Linked DNA regions of Homo sapiens: region 2 is linked to region 1. The links are contacts of gene promoters, found by promoter capture Hi-C in blood cells and fetal thymus (Javierre and others, 2016). All regions are on one chromosome and are shown on one strand. Each heading gives the region's core, a stretch centred on a gene start or on the middle of the fragment in contact. The rest is flanking DNA. Distances are from core to core; before and after follow the strand shown.

Region 1 (4,024 bases), core at 650-3,149:
GGCTGCATGGGTGGCTGGGATGCCAAAGGAAGCCTGCATGGGATTAAGAGCCTCAGCATGGCAGGCAGAGCCAGCAGCACTGTGAGGCTCCCTTAGGCCTGGGGCAAACCTGAGAAGGGAGTGGGTTCCCTGGACATGTAAAGCTGGTTCTAAGTCATTGAGGTCCACCCAGAAAAAGAATGTCCTCAGAAATGATGCTGACAATCAAAACCACAATGAAATGCCATTTCGCCCCCAATAGGATGACTAGAATAAAAAAAGACACACAATTACAAGTGTTTGCAAAGATGTGGAGATATTGGAACCCTCATATGTTGTTGGTGGGAATGTAAAATGGTGCAGCTGCTTTGGAAAACAGTTTGGCAGTTCCCCCAAAAGTTAAACATGGAGTTAACATATGATCCAGGAATTCCACTCTTAGGTATATACCCAAGAGAAAGAAAAGCATATGTTCATACAAAGACTTGTACATGAATATTCATAGCAGCTTTATTCACAGTAGCCCCAAAGCAGAAAACTAAATATCCATCAAGTGATGCAGGGATAAACAAAACGTATAGACATACAGTGAAATATTACTCAGTCATGAAAAGGAATGAAGTACTGCTACATGTTACAACATGAATAGATCATTAAACATTGGTTACTGAAAGAAGCTAGTCATAGTCACAAAAGGCCACATGTTGTATGATTCCGTTTATAGAAAATGTCCTGAATAGGGAAATCCATAGAGATTGAAAGTAGATTAGTGGTTCCCAGAGGCGGAGGAAAGGGGTGAATGAGGAGTGACTGCTAACGGGTAGTTCTTTTTGTGAGGGGCAGGGGAGGGGAGTGGGAAGTGGTGAAAATGTTCTGGAATTAGCTCATGGTGATGGTTGCAAAACTTTGTGAATATGCTAAACACCACTGAATCGTACACTTTTTTTTTTTTGAGACAGCGTCTCACTCTGTTGCCCAGGCTAGAGTGCAGTAGCGCAATCTCGGCTCACTACAACCTCTGCCTCCCGGGTTCACGTGATTCTCCTGCCTCAGCCTCCCGAGTAGATGAGATCACAGGCACGTGCCGCCATGCCGGGTTGACTTTTGTATTTTTAGTAGAGACGGGGTTTCACCATGTTGCCTAGGCTGGTCTTGAACTCCTGACCTCAGGCGATTCACCCGCCTCGGCCTCCCAAAGTGTTAGGATTACAGGCGTGAGCCACCGCGCCCGGCTTGAATTGTACACTTCAAAAGGTGGAATTTTATGGTGTTGAATTATATCTTTATTTTTTTAACGGGGGGAAAATGACGCCGCTGGAGAGGAGTTAGCGGAACTGAAACAATGAAATGGTGCGCGAGTGTCGCCTGTCCCCGTCGCATCCATCCCAACGAAGTTTGGGCCCTGGAACGGTGCACCCAGAAGGCCTGCGGGGAGAGACGCTGGGGCATGATCTGGAAGAAAGACGTCTCAGGATTCGAAGGGAATGCAGCTAAGGTGGCGGCGGAGGTTCGCCTAGGACTGGGGAGGCGTCCCTAGGCTCAGAAGTTGGCCCGGCCGGAGCGGAGATTTAAAGGTTGGAGCGCAGAGGCTCTTAAAGAGGCCGAGTCGAATTCCCACTCGGCGTCCACCTTAAAGCCAGCTCCCCGGCACCACGGATCTGACCCGGGTAAGTGCTGGGCCGCGGGAGAGGCTGCGGCGCCGACCCCAGCCCCTGGCGCTCTAGCGCGCCCTGCCGGGCCCAGGGGACTCGGCGCGGGTGGGCTGGACTTCGTAGGCGCGCGTCCTGGGGGCCGGGGTGCACGCGGGGGCGACAGGGTCGAGGCACCCGGCCCGGGCTCCCCACTGGCGCGCCCGCAGCGGCGCTCTATTTTTAGCAGGCGCTGTGGCAATATAAGGAATGCGCGGCGCGCTAGGCGCTCGGGGCGCACGCTGGCGGCGCGGTCGCTTTAAGGAGGCGCCGGGGCGGGGACGGACCGGAGTGGCCGGCTGGCGGGGAGCCGTCAGTCCGGCGGCCGCGGGGCCCGGCGGGCGCGACGCTGCCTCCTCACCGGCGCAGGCTAGGAGGGGGCGGCCTGAGTGCCGTAGCCGAGCCGGGGCTGGAGCGCGCGGTGAGTGGTCGGGCGGCCTTGGAGGGGAGGGGGCCCGGCCGCGCCGCCTCTCGCCCCGGCCGTCGCTTTGTTCCGGGGCGGGAGGTGTGGCCGCCCTCCGGGCTCGGCCGCGCTCTCCGCTTGCGGGGTGCGCCCTGGGACCGGCTGTGCGTGGCGTTTTGCCCCCATCGCGGGCTCCCGCGTAACGGTGTGCGTTCGTGAAATCGGCCACGACCAAGACCCCAGTGGGGAGGGCCTGCGCGCCGCTCAGAGAGACCCTTTCATGGTAATTACAGTTCCTTGGCTGCCTGGGCGAGAACCCGGTGGATAGATGGGCGGCAGGACGGGGCGGCGGGGGATGGGTGGGTGGGTGGGGGACTCTTTACCCCCCCGCCTTAAGATGGCGTTAACGAGGGGAGGGATCCGCCAGGGAGTTGACAAATTCATCTGAATAATAAAACGCAGCCTGCTTCATAAACAACCCTTCACTGCCCCCGGAGGTTTGGGGAGCTGGAGCTGTGGTCACAACTAGGGCCTGGGCTCATGCATTGAACTGATCTGGCTGAGGCATCAGACACGGTGCCAGTCCTGCCCTGCGGGGAAGACAAGAGCACAAAGTGACAAGCCAGTGTGGTAAGTGCTGAGATTCGGTAAGCCCAGGGGTTGTGGGAGCCCCTAGGGGTCCCTACTGCAGAGTGGGAGGTGAGAGAAGGCCGCCTAGAGGAGTTAATGTCTGGCTGGCCGCAGCGTATACACTGGACACCCAGTTAGACTCTGGCTAGAGCTGAGGTCTGTTCTGGCCTGGGGCAAAGTGGAGTCTGGAGAGGTGGACAGAGTCCATCAAGGCCACTGGGGCCTTGATCATAGAGCTCTGCCATTGCCCCTACTCCCCAATGGCCCCTGATGGTGTGGAACCTCCCTGGCCTTGCTCCTCTAGGACTCACTCTGTCCTGGACCTGACCAGAGAGGGTGGCTGACAAGGCTCGGAATCGTGGCCTCCAGAGGTTTGTCTGGCAGCAGAAGTAAGATGGAGATATGACTTTAAGAGCTCTGAAACTCCACTGTAATAACAGCAACCAACAGGGCTTCCAAAGACCAGGCACTTGAAGTGGATTTGCTCATCATTTGACAAGACACCTCTTGACAAGACACCTCCAGAAGGATTTTGTTTATTGTAAAGGATGGAGGAACTGGGGTGAAAAAGAGCCAACAGCTTGCCCAAGATCATATCTGAAGTCCATGCTTTTGGCCACGTGGCTGTCCTGGGCTTCGGAAGGCTCTGGTGCAGCCTGTGTTAGAGTTTTGTAATATATTGTTTTATAATTATTCACTATAGACATTCACTGGTGGGTTGAAGTGTGAGGCAGTGAGCTGTGGGTATTAATAACTGACTCGTGTCAGAAGCTTAGCAGTGAACAAAGCACTTTCTCGGATACGGTTCTTAGAGCTTCTCCTGCTTCTTTTCCCGGGGAAGAAACTTGAGCTGCTAACATTTTGTAAACCTCCTAATTTCCTGTAAATCACATGTCCCTGCTGAGTGGGGCTGAAAATGTTTCGGGCAATGGTTTTCACCCTTAGGTCTGTTCACACTGCCCAGCAGCCAGTTAGCTTCTCTCTGTAGTTTATGGTGTAGTTTGTCCTTTTTCTGCCGGGGTGGGAGGCATGGGGCTTTCATGCTCTGGGGTTTTTGAGGTCTGCCAGCCTCTGGGGAGGGAGGTGTTGGGCAAGCCTCGTGCTCTGGTGGAAACTGACCCCCTAGATGTGACCTCGGCATTTCCTAAAGCTGGGGGCGGGACTGGGGTAGGCGGTAGTCAAGGCCCTTTGGTGAAGCAAGCGATTGTCTCCAGCGTTGTCAGCTTCGCTCCTCCATAAGACAGTTGCTAATTTCCACCTCTGTTTTCACCTACATAAGACACTTTATGACAGGTTTAACTTTTATGTTATTATTAGCTCTAGC
Region 2 (4,024 bases), core at 881-3,380, 280 kb before region 1:
GAACTGGCCTCCTTCTGGCCACATGTGTCCCTGACTGAGGAGACGAAGTAAAAGGAGCAGGACAGCACCTGCATGAGCAGACCAGACCCACTGAAGCCCTCCCCAGAGCCTCTCACCACAGCAGCCCAGACCCTCTTGGAACCCTCTGGAAACAGGGGGCTCTCAAACCTGGGAACACAAATACACTTGCTCCGTAAGAACAGACTCAAGGGTCCTGGTCCACAGAATTTCGTGTTCCACCAGAACCACAGGGCCTTCTCTTGTCATGACCCCCAGAGCATGGACAAATGGTAAAGTGGCAGCTATGACCTGGCCCAAGGAACCAACTATGAGCTCTGAGAATTCATCTGCGTGCAGAACTGGCCCAGTCTCTCATGCTCTCCCATGGCCAGAGCAGGGGCTATCTGAGCTCTGCAGAAGTTTACATTCAATTGATATTTGCCTCCACCTGCAGCTTCAATGCTCCCGGGCCTCTGCCTGCCTCCCCAGGCTGGCATGCCTGGTGTGTAGAGCCAGAAACTGAATAGGCTGCTCTCTGTTGAAGAGACACTCAACTGTGGTCGCAACAAGCCAAACAGAATGAAGGTGCTAAGGGAGGCAGCATGTCTGCACAGGGACAGTTCAGGCTGACAACAGGCTCCAGCTCCGGCTCTCCTCCAACTTCCCCGAGTGACCCTGGACAAATGCCCCCACTCCACCCCAGATCCTATTTCCTCAACAGAGAACTTCTGGACTCAGTCCCCTGTAAGGACCCTACCAGCTCAGCCCTTCAGAGAAGTGCCCCTAATGGGGGACAGAGACTATACCCTCCTCATGTGCAAACAAGTTTTGGCAAGAATGGGACCCTTACAGGTCACAGCCCTGAGCAAGCCCTCTCCCCAGTGTACCTGAAGGCTGCCCGTCTGGCTGGGACACCACAGCGCCATTCTCCTGTCTCTCCTTCGCTCTGCTGGTGACTTCCTTGACAAGCTTTCCCCTCAGACTCAGAAATTCAGAAAACTTCCGGGCCTTCTGCTCCCGCTGGACTCTCAGCAGGGATTCCAGGTGTCTGAGAGTCTGAATCGAGATTCCCTTTGCATCCTAGAGGAGACAGGAGTTCACCTTTACAGAGAGAGGCTACCCTTCTTCTCCTTCCCCTAAGCCTCTCACACCTGCTGCTGCTGGCCTGGGAGTCTGTGATCAGTGCCTGGTGCTTTTCTTGCAGGACTGGGGGGCATGAAATGAGGATCAGAGAAGGGTAAGCAGCGGCTTCAAAGTTGCTGAAAGTGCAATGGTTCAGGGTTTGGGAGCCCCATCAAAATGTGCACAGCAGGATAATGCAAAGGACTGCGTCACAATTCTGACCACATCATAGCATAAGGGACTTCGTTGGAACATGCTTTTCTACCATCTGACTGAATCCTAGGATAAGAGACCACAGCTTGCTCATTTTTGTACTCCCAATTACTATTATTATGCCAAACACACTGTCCATGGCTAACAATGTTTAAAAAACTAAACTGCTGTAAACACAATCCAAGTACCCTTTCAAGACCTATTGGAAGTTGCTCGAGCTTTTGACATCCACCCAGAGCCCATGGGAGGGTCCAGGGAGGCATCTGAATCCAAGATGAGGATTCATGCAAGGTTAGAAAGGAATGTCTTAATCAAATCTGAATATAGGGCCAAAGTTAGAGTAGTCAGTAGTTGAAAACAATCAAAGTAGTGACCATTCTTCCTAAAATAACCCTAGTTGTCTATTTTTTTTTTCTAACTTACTCTACACAAACAGCATTCCAATAGTGTAATGCTTGGCTAATTTAATAATAGGTGTGTTTTTATTTAATAATAGATTTCATTGGTGCTTCTAATAATAACATACGTGTTCTGGTTAAGCACAATGGCATTCAAATACTAGTTGGAGAGAGAATCCATAGACCCTGTAAAGGAACTGGATCACTGCTGCAGACTCCCTGAGATGCCGAAAACCTGAGTCTGCTTGCTTTCTCAATGGGGAGGTTTGTGGTCTGGGGCAAGTTCCCAGCCCTGGTCACTGGCTGCTTGGAAATAGACTTGCTCCTGTTGGTGGGGCACAGTGCGAGTGAGACCGGACTTTAGGACCGCAGGCTGCGTGGAGATGGGCTGAGGCCTGTGACTGCCAGATTTCCCCCACTTCCCTGGCGACCTGTATGACTCAGCAGAGGCAGCCATAATCCCCCTGGGAATATAACTCCATTGGACTGGGAACACACCCTCATCCCCAACAGTAGCTGCAGCAAGCCACACCCAAGGAGAGGCTGAGCTCAGACACGTCTATCCCTGGCCCCACCTGGTGGTCTTCCTGCACCCGCCCTGGTAGCTGAAGACAAAGGTCATAATCCCTTAGGAGCTGTATGGCCCTGCCCACCGCCTGAGAAACCTGAATACTTAACCAGGTGTCCCTAGGGCAAGTAGGGAAGTATGCATCCTCCCTATAGGACCACAGTTTGAAAGCACCACCTCCTAGCTGGAGGCCAACAAACACAAAACCAATGCACTAAACAAACAAAAAGAAAAAACAAGGACCCTCAAGAGTCCACTTCACTCCCCTACTACCTCCACTGGAGCAGGTGCTGGAATAGTATCCACGGCTGCAAGACCTGAAGATGGATCACATCACAGGACTCTTTGCAGACACTCCCCAGTACCAGCCTGTAACTCTACTGGGTGGCTAGACCCAGAAGATCAAAAACAATCACTACAGTTCAGCTCTCAGGAAGCCCCATTCCTAGGGGAAGGGGGAGAGCACTACATCAAGGGAGCACCCCATGGGACAGAAGCATCTGAACAGCAGCTCTTGAATCCCAGATCTTCCCTCTAACATAGTCTACCCAAATGAGAAGGAGCCAGAAAAACAATTCTGGTAATATGACAAGACAAGGTTCTTTAACACCCACAAAAATCATACCAGCTCACCAGCAATGGATCCAAACCAAGACGAATCTCTGAATTGCCAGAAAAAGAATTCAGAAGGTCAATTATTAAGCTAATCAAGGAGGGACCAAAGAAAGGTGAAGCCCACCTTAAAGAAACAAAAAATGTTATACAAGAGATGAAAGGAAAATTTTTTAGTGAAATAGCATAAATAAAAAGTTATCACAACTTCTGGAAATCAAAAACACACTTAGAGAAATGCAAAATACACTGAAAAGTCTCAGCAATAGAATCAAACAAGCAGAAGAAAGAACTTCAGAGCTCAAAGACAAGGCTTTCGAATTAACACAATCCATAGAAGACAAAAAAGAATTTTAAAAAAATGAACAAAGTCTCCAAGAAGCTTGGGACCATGTTAAACATCCAAACCTAAGAATAATTGTTATTCCCAAGGAAGAAGAGAAATCTAAAAGCTTGAAAACATCTTCGAGGGAATAATTGAGGAAAACTTCCCCAGCCTTACTAGAGACCTAGGCATCCAAATACAAGAAGCTCAAAGAACACCTGAGAAATTCATTGCAAAAAGATCATCACCTAAGCACATAGTCAACCGGTTATCTAAAGTCAAGATGAAGGAAAGAATCATAAGAGCTGTGAGGCAAAAGCACCAGGTAACCTATAAAGGAACACCTCTCAGATTAACAGCAGATTTCTCAGCAGAAACCCTACAAGCTAGAAGGGATTGGGGTCCTATTCTTTAGCTTCCTTAAACAAAACAATTATCAGCCAAGAATTTTGTATCCAGTGAAACTAAGCTTCATAAATGAAAGAAAGATACAGTCTTTTCCAGACAAACAAATGCTGAGAGAATCCGCCACTACCAAGCCAGCACTACAAGAACTGCTAAAAGGATCTCTAAATCTTCTTTTTTAATTTATTTTTTTATTATACTTTAAGTTTTAGGGTACATGTGCACAACATGCAGGTTTGTTACACATGTATACAGAAACAAATCCATGAAATACAACAAAACAGAACCTCCTTAAAGCATAAATCTCATAGGACCTATACAACAATAATACACGAAAAAAAAAAAAGGCAAGGTATTCAGGCAACAAATAGCACAATGAAT

Evidence for each region. Contacts are between HindIII fragments. The CHiCAGO score rates a contact against its expected background, and 5 or more counts as called.
Region 2: a fragment that was not itself captured here is called in contact with the fragment with the promoter of MRAS in region 1 in 1 of 17 cell types (monocytes); the score reaches 5.4 in monocytes.

The regions. Positions count from the first base shown.
Region 1 is chr3:138,346,680-138,350,703 of GRCh38, forward strand. MRAS (muscle RAS oncogene homolog) reads left to right here and starts at 1,900. Exons shown (of 6, transcript NM_001085049.3): 1 at 1,900-2,088. RefSeq lists an enhancer at 1,412-2,367. The HindIII fragment of the contact is 4,446 bases long and covers 1-3,469 here.
Region 2 is chr3:138,070,756-138,074,779 of GRCh38, forward strand. DZIP1L (DAZ interacting zinc finger protein 1 like) reads right to left here. Exons shown (of 16, transcript NM_173543.3): 12 at 888-1,080. Among named protein-coding and RNA genes, the nearest start is that of DZIP1L, 43 kb to the right of the region's middle. RefSeq lists an enhancer at 1-473. The HindIII fragment of the contact is 2,326 bases long and covers 968-3,293 here.